Linked DNA regions of Homo sapiens: regions 2, 3 and 4 are each linked to region 1. The links are contacts of gene promoters, found by promoter capture Hi-C in blood cells and fetal thymus (Javierre and others, 2016). All regions are on one chromosome and are shown on one strand. Each heading gives the region's core, a stretch centred on a gene start or on the middle of the fragment in contact. The rest is flanking DNA. Distances are from core to core; before and after follow the strand shown. Region 1 holds the start of GLYCTK (glycerate kinase). Region 2 has its middle 16 kb from the start of POC1A. Region 3 overlaps DNAH1 (dynein axonemal heavy chain 1). Region 4 overlaps DNAH1 (dynein axonemal heavy chain 1).

Region 1 (3,342 bases), core at 372-2,871:
GTCACACCACCCACAGTGGTGAGAGCCCAAGGGCTGAAGTAGGCAAAGGCCAGGCTCCCATAACTGAGCCCATAGCCATTTTCCCCACTGGGCAGAGTAAAAGCTAAAGAAGCCTTGGGGCGAAGGTCAGGAAGCTGTAGAGGGGTATAGGAACAACAAAGACCCAAACAGCTCATCTGTACTACATATGTACTATTGCATCTACTTTAATAAATGCCTACCATAAATGTTGCAAGCTGACTTCATCAGCAAGTATGGACTGAGCAGGGTAAGGAGGCTGGGAATTGAGGTTCCAGCTCTACTATAGGCTTTCTGAGTGGCTGGGACACCTCCATTTCTCTCACTGGGCCTCATCCGCAAAATGAGACATGGGGTGAGATTAACACTACGCTCTTCCCTTAACAACCTCAGGCTCTCTGATACTGTCCACTGCAACACAGATCTCAAACACCGGTTTACCCCACACCCAAATATGGTGGTTACTTCTAGACTTTGACCATTTTGCTTGCCTAGTTCTCAGCTCTCCGGTAAGAAAAGACAGCCATGCCTGACTTCTGTTGTGAAAGGGAACACAGAGGGCATCGTCATGGGGATTCCGAAAATGGGTCCAGTTTTGGCCAGGGGGACCCCTGGAGCTTGCCCATTGGACTTGGAGCTAAAAGCATCTTAGCAACTAAGACAGCCGGTCTTTATAGCCTGGATGAAATTTGTATCTATTTCCCAGATGGACAAGAGCCTAGAAGATCCCAGCCTTGCCACTGGGTATGAGCACAGGACAGGGGGACGCTCAATGCTAAGGCTGCCAGAGAAAATACAGGACTTCCGGTTAAATTTGAATTTCAAATAAACAAGTAATTTTTAAAGTATAAGTATGTGCATACAATGTTTAGGACTTAACAATTATTCGTCGTTTATCTTAACTCAAATTTAACTGGACGTGGCCCGGCGCAGTGGCTCACGCCTGTAATCCCAGCACTTTGGAAGGCTGAGGCGGGCGCATCACCTGAGGTCAGGAGTTCGAGACCAGCCTGACCAACGTGGTGAAACCCCGTCTCTTCTAAAAATACAAAAATTAGCCGGGTGTGGTGGGCGCCCGTAATCCCAGCTACTCGGGAGACTGAGGCATGAGAATCATTTGAACAGGGGAGGCGGAGGTTGCAGTGAGCCGAGATCGCGCCACTGCACTCCAGCCTGGGTGACAGAGTGAGATTCTAACTCAAAAAAAATGTAACTGGACGCTTTGCATTTTTATTTGCTAAGTCCTCCAATTCTATCCAAGACACGGTCTCTCCGAAACTCCGGGAGGCTCCAGAGCAAAACAACGGAAATAGGAAGACTACCGGTCTTGACTCCTCCCCGCCATCAAAGAAGGCTGGTACCATTTCCGGCTTTCCCTAGACAGTAGGGGGCCGGAAGTGACGTCATCCTAAGGTAGGGCCTTAGCGAGGGAAATGGCTGCCGCGTAATGCCCGGTGATGCGAGAAAGAAGGGCCTGCTGCCACCAGGACCCGTCATCGCCCAGCCCAGGGACCGCTTCTGAAGGCCATGCGAGCCCTGGCGGCGCAGACTTACCAGCCCACAGCTCCGGCCGCGGTGCCCAGCGCTGGAGAACGGAAGTACTAGGGGGTGGGCGGAGCGGAAGCCGGAAGTGTGGGTGGGTGGAGCGGCGCAGGCGGGTGCGAGCTCTGGCTGAAGCCGGTGTCCGGGAGGGGAGAGTTTAGCATATTGGCTCTTTGCTGGCCACTGACAGACCTGGAAGGAGTCACCTTCAGTCCTCATTTTTTAAATCTCTACATTGAGGGTAATAATCCCCGCCTCACCGATTGCCGATTTTTTTTTTGAGACGGGGTCTCATTCTGTCGCCCAGACTGGAGTGCAGAGTCGCGGTTTCGGCCCAATGCAACCTCCGCCTCCCGGATTCAAGCGATTCTCATGCCTCAGCCTCCCGAGTAGCTGGGATTACAGGCATGTGCCACCACTCCGGGCTAATTTTTGTATTTTTTAGTAGAGACGGGCTTTCGCCATGTTGCCCAGGCTGGTCTCGAACGCCTAACCTCAAGCGATCCACCCACCTCAGCCTCCGAAAGTGATGGGATTACAGACTTCAGCCGCCGCACCCGGCCTCTCCCTTCCTTTATCCTGTACGGTCAGTCAGCAGATGCACCCTGAGTGTCAGGCACTGACTGGGCTGAGCAAACGAACTGAGAATCACTACTTCCCCACAACTCACCCCTTCTGGAGCCAGATTAAGTAATTCCCGCTCCTCTCCATGGCTTTTATTCCACAACTTATTATTGTTCTTCCCTCTCCCACCATGGGCCACCAAATACAGCTCTGGCTTAGCAAGAGTTCCATTCTGCGATCCTCAAGCACATAAGCGGCATGTAAACGCTAATGACTCTGGGCCTACCTCGCTGTCCCTACTCTCATCCGGGGCCTACCCTGTGTTGGCTGGATGCCTTCCCACATTCATAAGATGAGTCCTGATCAGACTCCAAAAATACAAAACAGTTCACTGTTTTTACTGATGTTTTCTTAGGGAGATAGAGGAGAGAGTTGCATCACAAATCACACACTTGATTTCCTAACAATTTTATTGAAACATGTTTCTTGGCAGGGCGCAGTGTTTCACGCCTGTAATCCCAACATTGGGGAGGCCAAGGTGGGCGGATCGCTTGAGCCTAGGAATGCGAGACCAGCCTGGGAACATGGCGAAACTTATCTCTACCAAAAAAAAAAGAGCCAGGTGTGGTGGCATGCTCCTGTAGTCCCAGCTACTCAGGAGGCTGAGATGGGAGGATCACCTGAGCCTGGGAGGTAGAGGCTGCAGTGAACCTTGATCACGCCACTGCACTCCAACCTGGGCCCCTGTCTCAAAAAAAAACCAACAAACAAAAACACATTTCTTTCTCTTGGTTTTGAGGTGGAGTCTTGCTCTGTCACCCAGGCTGGACTGCAATGGCACAGTCTCAGCTCACGGCCACTGCACTGCAGCCTGGGCACGATGTCGGCTCACTGCAACCTCCGCCTCCCAGGTTCAAGCAATTCTCCTGCCTCAGCCTCCCGAATAGCTGGGACTACAGGCGCCCGCCACCACGTCCAGCTAATTTTTGTATTTTTAGTAGAGACAGAGTTTCACCATGTTGGCCAGGCTGGTCTCGAACTCCTGACCTTGTGATCCACCGCCCTTGGCCTCCCAAAGTGCAGGGATTACAGGCGTATAAACAATTACAGGCGCCCGGCCTATATAAACAACCTTCATCTTTCCCCATGCTGGAGAACACTAATTGCCACTGCTTGGTGTCTGTGTTTCCCTGGATGGCTGCCCTCACACTTTATGCT
Region 2 (3,342 bases), core at 291-2,790, 120 kb after region 1:
GACCCACAGGGGCACACTAGTTCCACAGTGGGTACCACTGAGGCCCAGAATTGCCATGGGACTCCATGGAAAGGGGCACTCTGCAGGGGTCACTCCCACAACAGGTGGGGTCACTCCCACAACAGGTGGGCCTAGTGCAATAGCCCCATCTGTGGGGGGTCTCTTTTGGCTCATCTCAGTCCTAGGAGGGGACATGTGCCTCCTGACCCTTTGAGGCGGATCCCCAGGGACCTTGCCTACATGTGCCCTTCCAGTCTGGCCCTACTCCTGGTCCTCATCTGCTTTGTCCCACTCCCCAGACACCACATGTTCAGTCCTGTTACCAGACCTTTTCCTAGTCTGTGCCCTGCACCCGAACCACCCTTTCTCTTCTCTCCTGTCCATCTGCACCCCTCACTGTGCTCCAAAGCTTATCTCCTATAGAGCAGCTTTCCTTCATTACCTTAATCCCTTCGCCTTCTCTCCAGCCAAGAACCAGTCCTGTGCATCACAGATTCCATTGCAATCTATGAGCAATGTTGGAATGAGTCATTTATTTATTCACCAAATGTTTATTGCACCCCACTCTATCTGGGCCCTCTGCTGGGTGCAGGGGCACAGTCACATCTGTCTCTGGAGTGGACATTCTCATGGGGAGAAGATAACAGGTCCAGTGCATCAGATGGTGTTAAGTCACCACAGGAAAATAAAGCAGGGAAAGGGAAGGAGTGGGCAGACATTTGTAAGTAGGGTTGTCAGAGAAGGCTATACTGAGAAGCTGATGTTTGAACAAAGTCCTGATGGAAGTGACAGATAGAGCCATGGGGACACTGGGACAACAGCCGGTGCAAGAGTCCTGAGATGAGAGAGTGGCTGGCACATTCTTATTCAAGGAACAGCAAGAAGCTCAATGTGGTTGGAGCAGGGAGAGCAGGGCAGAGCAGTGGAAGCAGAGGCAGAGAGGTGTGGGCCAGATCATCGGAGCAGGGGAAGTATGAAGTCACATAGTTCATATTAAGTGTCAGCTCAACATCAAGCTCTGACACTAATGAAGAGCTCATGGAATCTCCCCTCCTCTATCATGGCAGGCATATTATTACGATTATTTTACAACTGAGAACACTGCAGCGGGGAGAGGTGGTATGACTCCTGCTAGATCACCAGTTCAAAGGTGGCAGGGCCTGGGCTCATCCGCAGGCCTGCCTGACCTTGGGACAAGCCCTGAGCTGCCCTGCTCAGAGTTTCAAACCCAGGCCACCAGCAGGCGTAGGCAGGGGAAACTGATAGCATTGATGGGGCTTTCTGGTTTCGGGCTGGCTGGGCTAAGTTGGTGGATGGGATATCCGACTTTCCCACTTCTTTCTCTGCCCCACCCTGGGTGGCCTTGGCTCATGGTCAGCAGGCTGGGGAGTGAAGACAGCCTCTTGTAGGGGAGTCCACCTGTGGGCCTGCACCAGGATAGACACCTTCCTGCCACAAGGGGACTTGAAAAAGATAGCTATGGCCAGGCGTGGTGGCTTATGCCTGCAATACCAGCACTTTGGGAGGCTGAAGCAGATGGATTACCTGAGGTTAGGAGTTCAAGACCAGCCTGACCAACATGGTGAAACCTCATCTCTACTAAAAATACATAATTAGCCGGGTGTGGTGGTGGGTGCCTATAATCCCAGCTACTTGGGAGGCTGATGCAGGAGAATCGCTTGAACCTGGGAGGCAGAGGGTGCAGTGAGCTGAGATCATACCAATGCACTCCAGCCTGGGCAACAAGAGTAAAACTCTGTCTCAAATAATAATAATAATAATAATAATAATAATAATAATAATAATAATAATGATAAAATAAATTTAAAAATAAAAATAAAAAAAGAAAAAGATAGCTAAAATAGCTCTCTTCCAGCTTCCTCAATAAGAAGGTCCCCCCAACATTGAGGCTCCTTCAAAACTGAGCTCTGCCTCTACATGGAGGCCTCAGTCAGAACTGGAGTCCAATCGAATGGAGGTAGTACTGGGGTAGGGGCCTGCCCAGTCAGGGAATAGAGGCACTTGGTTTATGCAGGTTGTACTAGCAGCAGATCCTGGGCTGTTTACATGTTGTCAGAGAATTTGCATTTTTTGGCGAAGAAATGAGCAAAAGGGGGTGGGGCACCTTCAGCTCCTCCTCCCAGGTGAATAGGGATGGAAGACAGAAGGATCTGGAAAGATTAGACGGGTAAGTAAAATCTTCTAGTGACTCTCACTTTGAATAAATCTAACGTTTGAAAACCATTTACAGAAGAGTTTCTCTAAATTCAATTTTTTTTTTTTTTTTTCAGAGACACAGTCTTGCTCTGTTGCCCAGGTTGGAATGCAGTGGCACAATCTTGACTCACTGTGATACCCGCCTCCTGCATTCAGGTGATTCTCGTGCCTCGGCCTTCTGAATAGCTGGGACTACAGGTGCGTGCCACCACGTCCAGCTAATTTTTGTATTTTTAGTAGAGACAGGGTTTCATCATGCTGGCCAGGCCAGTATTGAACTCCTGACCTCATGTGATCCGCCTGTCTTGGCCTCCCAAAGTGCTGGGATTACAGGTGTCAGCCACCGCGCCTGGCCAGATTTAAACATATTCTGATTGGTGATGTGTTGAAAGAGTTATTATCAGTAGAAAGGAATATCTTGGTTAAGATAAGGGGTTGTGGAGATCAAGCTTTTACCATGCAGATGAAGCCTCTGGATAGCAGGTTTCAGAGAAAATAGATTGTAAATGTTTCCTATCAGACTTAAGGTCTGTGTTGATGTTAACGCTGGAGGGATATAGTGAGGCATGTGCAACCCCAACTTCCCATCATGGCCTGAACCAGTCTTTCAGGTTAAATTTTAGAGTGCCCTGGCCAAGAAGGAAGTCCATTCAGATGGTTTCAAGTTTTCAACATCTGATGGTTGTCAAATTTTATTTATTTATTCTTTTTTTTTTTTTTTTTGAGACGGAGTCTTGCCAGTCTGTCACCAGGCTAGAGTGCAGTGGAGTGACCTCGGCTCACTGGTTCAAGCGATTCTCCTGCCTCAGCATCCCAAATAGCTGGGATTACAGGCATGAGCCACCATGCCCAGCTAATTTTTGTATTTTTAATAGAGATGGGGTTTCACCATGTTGGCCAGGATGGTCTCGATCTCATGACCTTGTGATCCTCCCGCCTTGGCCTCCCAAAGTGCTGGGATTACAGGCATGAGCCACTGCACCCGGCCCAAATTTTATTTTTGGTTTGCATTCTCCCCATTCTGGCCAAGATTTGCCAGAGGCAACATTAATGGCCACCAGATTTTAATTTTCTCCCATAGCATTGCTGGGGTGGCATGGCTGCTTGCCCTGGGTCCATCCTGTC
Region 3 (3,342 bases), core at 387-2,886, 93 kb before region 1:
GATCTGCCCTGACTGTGAGCTGGGCATGAAGGACTGGCCACCTTCCGGGATGCTATGCTCAGATGGGGTTGTGTCCAGCCCCCCCGAGCCCTGCCCTCTGCTGTGGCAGTGGCACCTGGGTGTCTGAGAAGAGGAAGGTGATGGGTAGGTTCTGTAGGCCCGCCTTGAGCAGGACCTTCTTCACATCATCTCGCCACTCGGACATGCCGTAGTTCTTGGATAGTTCAATCTGGAAGCACTCGTACTCGGCCCTGGAGGCAGAAGTTTGGGTTGAAGCATGCCAGGGACTTGGGGCCAGACGCTGAAGGGTGGTGGGTGACCACACCCTACCCTGACCACCTGGAATTCTGCTCCCATCCTGGGCAGACCTGCAGACCCTTCAGGCCCTGAACCTGCTTTTTTGCCTTCAGACCTTTGCCCAAGTTGTTCCCTCAGTCCAAATGCCCTTCCCTTCCATCCTCCCAGCTCTGATTCTGAGAGCAGCCCTGGCCACCTCCCCTAGTAATCCCTCTGGGATGCCTGCACCACACTTCCCTCCCTACAGCACCACAGGCACTGCTGCTGCCTCTCCCTGGAGCCCAGATCCTGCTACTAGTCTTTCCAGAAGCCTGTAGGCTGCACGGGCCTACTTCAGGGTTGCCCGAGGCCTCTACCACTGTGCAAAAGCATGGGTCAGTCAAACCGACCAGCCAGCCCTGGCCGCCCACTGCCCAGCACGCCCTGGAGGCGCTCACATGTGCGAGGCGAGCCTTGTGAGGGAGCTGCGGCCGCTGCCACCCACGCCCAGCAGGAGTGCATTGCCCAGCGCCTGGCGTAGGGTGCGGCTGATGCGACAGATGTGGCTCATGGCGTCCATGAAGAGGACCAGCTTCAGCTTGGCCGTGTTGATCTGGTTGTAGTCCTCTATGTACTCCTCTATCACCTGCATCATCTGTGCACCAAGGCGAGGATGGGGAAGGCGGGGTCTCTCTTACTGTAGGGTCTCCCCGATTCCCCCCACCCACCCGCTTTCTTCTCTGTCCTGACTGAGAAGCACAGGTGCCTTGACCACCTGTGACCCGGCCAGCTGCATGTTTCCCCTGCAGGCTCGAGCCCAAGCTGAACATTCCCAGACACTGATAAACTTGCTTAGATTGTTGCTCAAAACACTGAGGGATTGGCCTAGCGCGGTGGCTCACGCCTGTAATCCCAGCACTGTGGGAAGCCAAGGCGGGAGGATCACTTGAGCCCAGGAGTTCAACACCAGCCTGGGCAACATGGCGAAACTCTGCCTCTACCAAAAAATAAAAAATAAAAATAAAAATTAGCTGGGCGTGGTGGTGCGTGCCTGTGGTCCCAGCTACTCAGGACGCTGAGGTGGGACGACTGATAGAGCCCATGAGGTAGAGGCTGCAGTAAGCCAAGTTCATGCCACTGCCCTCCAGCCTAGGTGATGGAGCAAGACCCAGTCACATACACACACACACAAACAAAAACAAAAGCAAAAATAAAACCCACGGGGGGATCAAGCATATTGTTAAACACATAGAAGCTAGCCCCAGCCCACCCAAATCCTTCAGTCCTCATGTGAACTCCATAACTCATATGACTCCCTTGTTGCACACATACTGAGCTAGAACATCTCTGCTCTCCCCTGTATGTGAGTTCCCCTAATAAATGCTCTGGACTAATTACCCTGTAATTCAATGCTTCTTTCTTTGGAATCTCAACCAGCCCAATCTAGGGATGGCTTGGGGGCAGTCCCTTGTAGGAACTTGCTTGCTGTCACTTTTGGGGCGACTCCAATCATGGGCTCGGCTGATCAGAGCACCGTGTACTGGGGCCCTCCCTGACGGGGAGCTCACCTGCCACAGCATACCCTGTTCCTCCTGTGCATGGTGGGGACGCTGGGCCTTAAGAAGCCAGGCCCCCCTGCACGAGGCCTGACCCAGGGACACATGGAGGCCTGAGAGTTGGGTCAGAGCCCTGCCTGCTCCTTCTGGGGCTTACCAGGGTGTGCTGACCCTGTGACCCTGGTGGGAGCTCTTGGAATTAGGAGAGGATGCGTGTGGAGAGAAACTGTCAGGAGGCCTGCTTCAGCCATGCAGCACTGGGGCCACCAAGTGAGGCCTCTTCCCTGCCTCCCTGGGGTCCTGACTGAGACCCATGGCCCCAGGCCCCGCCCCCGGCCCCTTGTGGAGGGATGATTGCCCCTGTGTCTAGAGCCCATCTCAGCTGGACCACAGGCTGGTTTTCAGAGATAAGTGAAGAAACCGGTACCCAGAGAGAGCAAGGGCATGCCGGGAGTCTCCTGGAGCTGGCTGTCTTACCCCGCGTCCTGGCCCCCTGGTTATAGTGTGGTAGTCTGTTAGTGGTGACTGCAGGGGGCCTGGGCCCCAGGGAGGCAGATTGAAGAGGACCCCACCAGGGGCAGGGCGCCTGCCTGGGCCCCTCACCTTACTCTCACTGGTGATGAGCTCGTAGGACTTGACATCGGAGCCTGGTGACATGAAGTCCCCGTAAAGAATGGGCTGGAAGGGGCAGACCTTGTTGAAGGTCACCTCCCACTGCTCCATGCAGCGCTTGAGGAGCTGGTCGAACCAGCTGCGGTCCTCCTCATTCACCAGTCGGTCCCGGAACACGCGGCAGTTCTCGTGATACCACAGTCGCAGCAGCTGCACTTGGTCCTGCAGTAGCCCCAGCATCGGTGCCTGTCCTTGGCCCCCAAGCCCTCAGCTATCTCTCAAACCACCAGGCAAGGGAGGGTGGGCCCCAGTTCCTGGGGCCCTGACTGGAGCCTGGCTCTCCCACCATGGCCCAGGGACAGTGTGTGGGGGCTGCTGGCAAGTGCAACTGCTGGCTGGCTGAGGATGGGGTGGATTGCACAGTGCTGCCTGGGCCTCCTCATGCCTCAGCTCCGAGTCCAGCTGGCCAAGTGCCCTCTGGGTGTCTGGCTCTGCTAGCTTGTCACAAGCACCTCACTTCCACCTTTTAGCCCCCTGTCGCTCCCCTAACCCCAAACCTGGGAGGGATGCTTGATGCTCCTAACACTTTCCCAACACCCCACATCTAACCACCCACCAAGCCACACTGACATGACCCACCAATCTCCTCTGAACCTGCCCCCTCTCTCCATCTCAGCTGCCGCCTCTGTCCCAGCTTCCCTGCATCTCCCTGGGTGGCAGGACTGCCCTCCGGAAGCTCCCAGCCTTTTCTGTAGACTTTGTTGGCTACAAGCGTGGCTACAAGGCCAGGGTCAGCTTCTGTCCTGCTCACCCCATCTCCTTAGCCTGGGCTACACACACACTGGCCGCTCAGTCCCATTCCAAAGTGCAGGTCTGTCCCCCGCCCACCCACACGGCT
Region 4 (3,342 bases), core at 544-3,043, 75 kb before region 1:
GCAGTGGGCCAGCTGCCCTCCAGCTGCCCAGGAGCCCTCCCAGAGTTCCACTCCTGGAGCCCTGCTGGGTGGAGCTCACCTCATTCATGCTGGGGTTTTCTCGCTTGAGGTTCCCAGCAGCCGAGATCACAGTTTTCACGGCTCTCATCCCGAAGTCATAGTGATCCTGTCGCCATACAGAAGGAGGCATGGGTGAGCACTGTCCCTCTCCAAGGCTTCTGCCTGGAACACTCTGCCTCCCACCTGGCAGTTGGCCAAGTCTCATCACCAGCTCATAGCACTTCCCTTGCAGACCTGCTGGGACCACCTACATGCCCAGCCTGGGCAGGTGCACCTTCTTTGGGCTCCCCGGGCACCCTGCACTTTACTGTCCCGATAGCCCCCTCCTTTATCCGATACCCATTCTGCATCCTTTGGTCACTGTCCCAGCACATGGCCAGGGGCAGGAGGGCCCTCTAGTTGTGCTGGAAAAGTGAATGAAGGAGTTTCCCATCTGTGCAACAATCAGCTTGGCCTTGATGGCCCTTGAGCTTCCTTCTAACATTCTCCCATAACATCTCTCCAGACCCGTCTTTCTGGCCACACCACCATGCTTTTTCCCCCAGCCTGTTTCTCTTCATTACACAGTAAGTGAGTTGGAAATAGTTAAATTAATCATTCTGCCCCATGGTGCCCAACCAAGAGGACTCCATCTAGACCCAACCCATAGACTAGCATATGTTCCAGAAATCTCGGACTTGGAGCTGCATGAAGAGGCTGGGCTTGACTTTGGGTCATTTCTATTTGGGAAGAGTTGAGTGCATTTCCAAAACCATGTGGGATAGTTGCTCTGATTGGGGGTGGGGAGCATTTTGGAAAGAAGGGTGTGTGGGAGCGCCGGCACCCAGGAGTGCACTGTGATGAACTGCCACTGCTTTTCCTGGTAACAGGCTGCATCTCTTCTAGCTCATAGATTTTGGTGGACTGCATCTGGCCAAAGGTAGTACTGATTACCCCTGGCCACAGTGATTGGTGTTCATGGATGAGCAGGTGACCCAGAGAAGGCCCATTAGGGTGACAACAGGGATTTTTTTCTGAAATCATGATGGAAGACAAACTAAGTTGCTAGCATGTCAGCCCAGAGGTGGGACTCGTCTCTGCTGCTGCAAAGTGGGGGCCTGTTTGGGAACCAAGCTGAACAGGAAAGCTCATCCACCAGCACTGGTGCCTGGGCCACCCCATCTGTCCTTGGAATCTGGGCTCAGCAAGCTGAGTGGAAGGATGGTGGTGCTGGGAGGCTCGGAGGGCCTGGCTGTCCTACTCTGGTCCCCACAAGGCCCAGGTGCACTTGCTCCCCAGCCTGGGGTTCTGAAGCTCTTGGTGCCCTAATGATCAAGGCCCTTGCACCTGAAGTAGCCACACAGGCATCTGTTCCTGGCTCCTGCTCCAGCGCTGCTGTGTACTGCATGAGCCTGGCCAGACCTTTAGCTACCTAGGACCTCGGTGTCCTCAGCTGACAAATGGGCATGTAACTCCTATCTCCAAGGGTTGCTGGGAGAAGCCGACAAGGTAATGCCTGTAAAGCACCGGGCATAGAGCCTGGCCCTCAGCAGGTGCCCTGGAGGCTGGGAGCAGGCAGAAGTTTTCAGACCCTGGAAACCCATCAGGGCAGGACCACACCTGGGAGCTGAGCTGCTCAGAAGACAGCTTGAAGGTGGTTGTGATCTTCTTAGCCAGCACACTGGCCTCATTAAAGCCAAAGGAATAGAGGGAGATCTCAGTGATCATGGCGTAATCTGGAACCATCATGGCCACGGGTCGGAAGAGCGCCTGGGACACACAGTGCACATGTGAACAGCAAACAGAGCTCACCCCCAGAGCACCCCCAGCTTCATCCGGCCCTCCTCCCTAACACGCTGGGACTCCCTGCTGCACCAAGCCTGCCACAGCTGAGGCTTTCACTCCCCTGAGACTGGTAGCTCTGCCATTAGAGTGGATCCTTGGTGTTGATCCAAACCTGCCCCCACATGACTCCCAGGAGATGCCCCTCTTGGCTCCTGTTTTCCTGTTTCTCCTGAAGGCCCAGGGTGAACAGGTCTCATTAGATTCCCCCTCCACACCACATCCATAGGCAGCCTGACTTCTCCCATGCCCTGAGGACAAGTCTGAGGCCCTGAGGCCTCCCCTCCATGGCTAAGGGGCTACCATAGGGAATCACAGTCCCTGGAGTCCAAGCAACTGTGTCCTTGCATAAGTGGCTTAGCATCTCTGAACTCAGGCTAGAGCTCTGGTGCTTCCTGGGCCACTCTGGGCCTGCACTTGCCTTCAGATTGTCAGGCAGCTCCGTGCGGCCAGCGTAGCCCGGGTTCATGGTGATAAACACTGCGCAGGATGGCACCAGTGGGATCTCCACACCCTCAAACATGAAGCGTTCCACCTGCAGTGGGGAGAGGCTGACTTGCCTGGGACTAGGGTGCCCAGCCTTGTCCCCTCCTCTGAGTGGGCCCCTTGTCCCCTGTTGATGCCCCTGTCCTGGCTGTAGCTGGTAGGCCAGGCCTGGACCCCTGATCATGGGTTGTATCCTCTCTCAGGATCTGGCCTGAAACCTCAGGCCCCAGTGGCTACCCATGGCCTTCCAGCTCCTGGCTTCAGGCCCTTGGAGGTCTCCACATCTCCTGCTTCCCACTCGCTCCACCCCCAATTCCCCAGCTCCAGCCAAGCTCAGCCTGACTAGGGGAAGTGGGGGAGGGGATAACTGCTAGCCTCTCAGCTCCTGTCCCCAGAACAAGGTCCCTGGCCGCCCTGCACGTGGCTAGAGAAAGGACCAATGCCTGGGGCTTTCCATAAAGGTCAGGATGTAATGAGGAGGGGACCCCTTCATCCCCCGCAGCTTGGCCTGGGAGCTGCCCACAGACTGGGGTTAGGGTGTGCCCCCGGGACAAGAGAGGCTGGACCCAGGGTGGACCTTAGCGCCTGGCTTCTCAGCCTGCAATGGGGAGCAGTATGGCGGCGTGAGTATGGCAGATCTGAGGGAGTAAGGTGGGTCCCCCGGGCTCACCCGCTGCTGCTGCGCCTTCTGGATGGTGGTGATCTGCTGCGCCACCACAGACAGCACCTCGATGTCGATGCGATTGAACTCGTCGAAGCAGGCCCAGGCCCCAGCACTGAGTGAGGCCGGAACATTGGATGGGGCACATGTGTTCAGAGCCCAATCTGGGCACCTCCCTCTGAGGGCCCCCTCCAACTCCACTTGGGAGGAAGCCCTCAGGGGCAATCTCCATCAGCTCAGTCTTCAACCCACTGCCACTCCCCACCCCAATGCCCCCAGGACCAAGCCGTGATGCCTATTACCCCCTTCTGTCC

The links. Contacts are between HindIII fragments. The CHiCAGO score rates a contact against its expected background, and 5 or more counts as called.
Region 2: a contact is called between a fragment that was not itself captured here and the fragment with the promoter of GLYCTK in region 1, in 1 of 17 cell types (M2 macrophages). The highest score is 6.4, in M2 macrophages.
Region 3: a fragment that was not itself captured here is called in contact with the fragment with the promoter of GLYCTK in region 1 in 7 of 17 cell types (erythroblasts, M1 macrophages, endothelial precursors and 4 more); the score reaches 11.0 in erythroblasts.
Region 4: a contact is called between a fragment that was not itself captured here and the fragment with the promoter of GLYCTK in region 1, in 6 of 17 cell types (M1 macrophages, erythroblasts, endothelial precursors and 3 more). The highest score is 8.9, in M1 macrophages.

The regions. Positions count from the first base shown.
Region 1 is chr3:52,286,107-52,289,448 of GRCh38, reverse strand. It overlaps GLYCTK (glycerate kinase), which reads right to left and starts at 1,621. Exons shown (of 5, transcript NM_145262.4): 1 at 1,573-1,621. It overlaps GLYCTK-AS1 (GLYCTK antisense RNA 1), which reads left to right. Exons shown (of 1, transcript NR_046719.1): 1 at 1-869. It overlaps LOC107986086 (a long non-coding RNA gene), which reads left to right and starts at 1,429. Exons shown (of 3, transcript XR_001740699.2): 1 at 1,429-1,616. RefSeq lists enhancers at 1,854-1,963, 790-1,989, 1,295-2,036. The HindIII fragment of the contact is 11,873 bases long and covers 1-3,342 here.
Region 2 is chr3:52,168,891-52,172,232 of GRCh38, reverse strand. No RefSeq gene overlaps it. Among named protein-coding and RNA genes, the nearest start is that of POC1A, 16 kb to the right of the region's middle. The HindIII fragment of the contact is 2,257 bases long and covers 412-2,668 here.
Region 3 is chr3:52,379,229-52,382,570 of GRCh38, reverse strand. DNAH1 (dynein axonemal heavy chain 1) reads right to left here. Exons shown (of 78, transcript NM_015512.5): 48 at 2,436-2,666; 49 at 735-931; 50 at 116-251. Among named protein-coding and RNA genes, the nearest start is that of BAP1, 29 kb to the left of the region's middle. The HindIII fragment of the contact is 6,412 bases long and covers 1-3,342 here.
Region 4 is chr3:52,361,462-52,364,803 of GRCh38, reverse strand. It overlaps DNAH1 (dynein axonemal heavy chain 1), which reads right to left. Exons shown (of 78, transcript NM_015512.5): 30 at 3,038-3,143; 31 at 2,303-2,416; 32 at 1,660-1,809; 33 at 80-166. Among named protein-coding and RNA genes, the nearest start is that of DNAH1, 47 kb to the right of the region's middle. RefSeq lists an enhancer at 1,960-2,513. The HindIII fragment of the contact is 7,102 bases long and covers 1-3,342 here.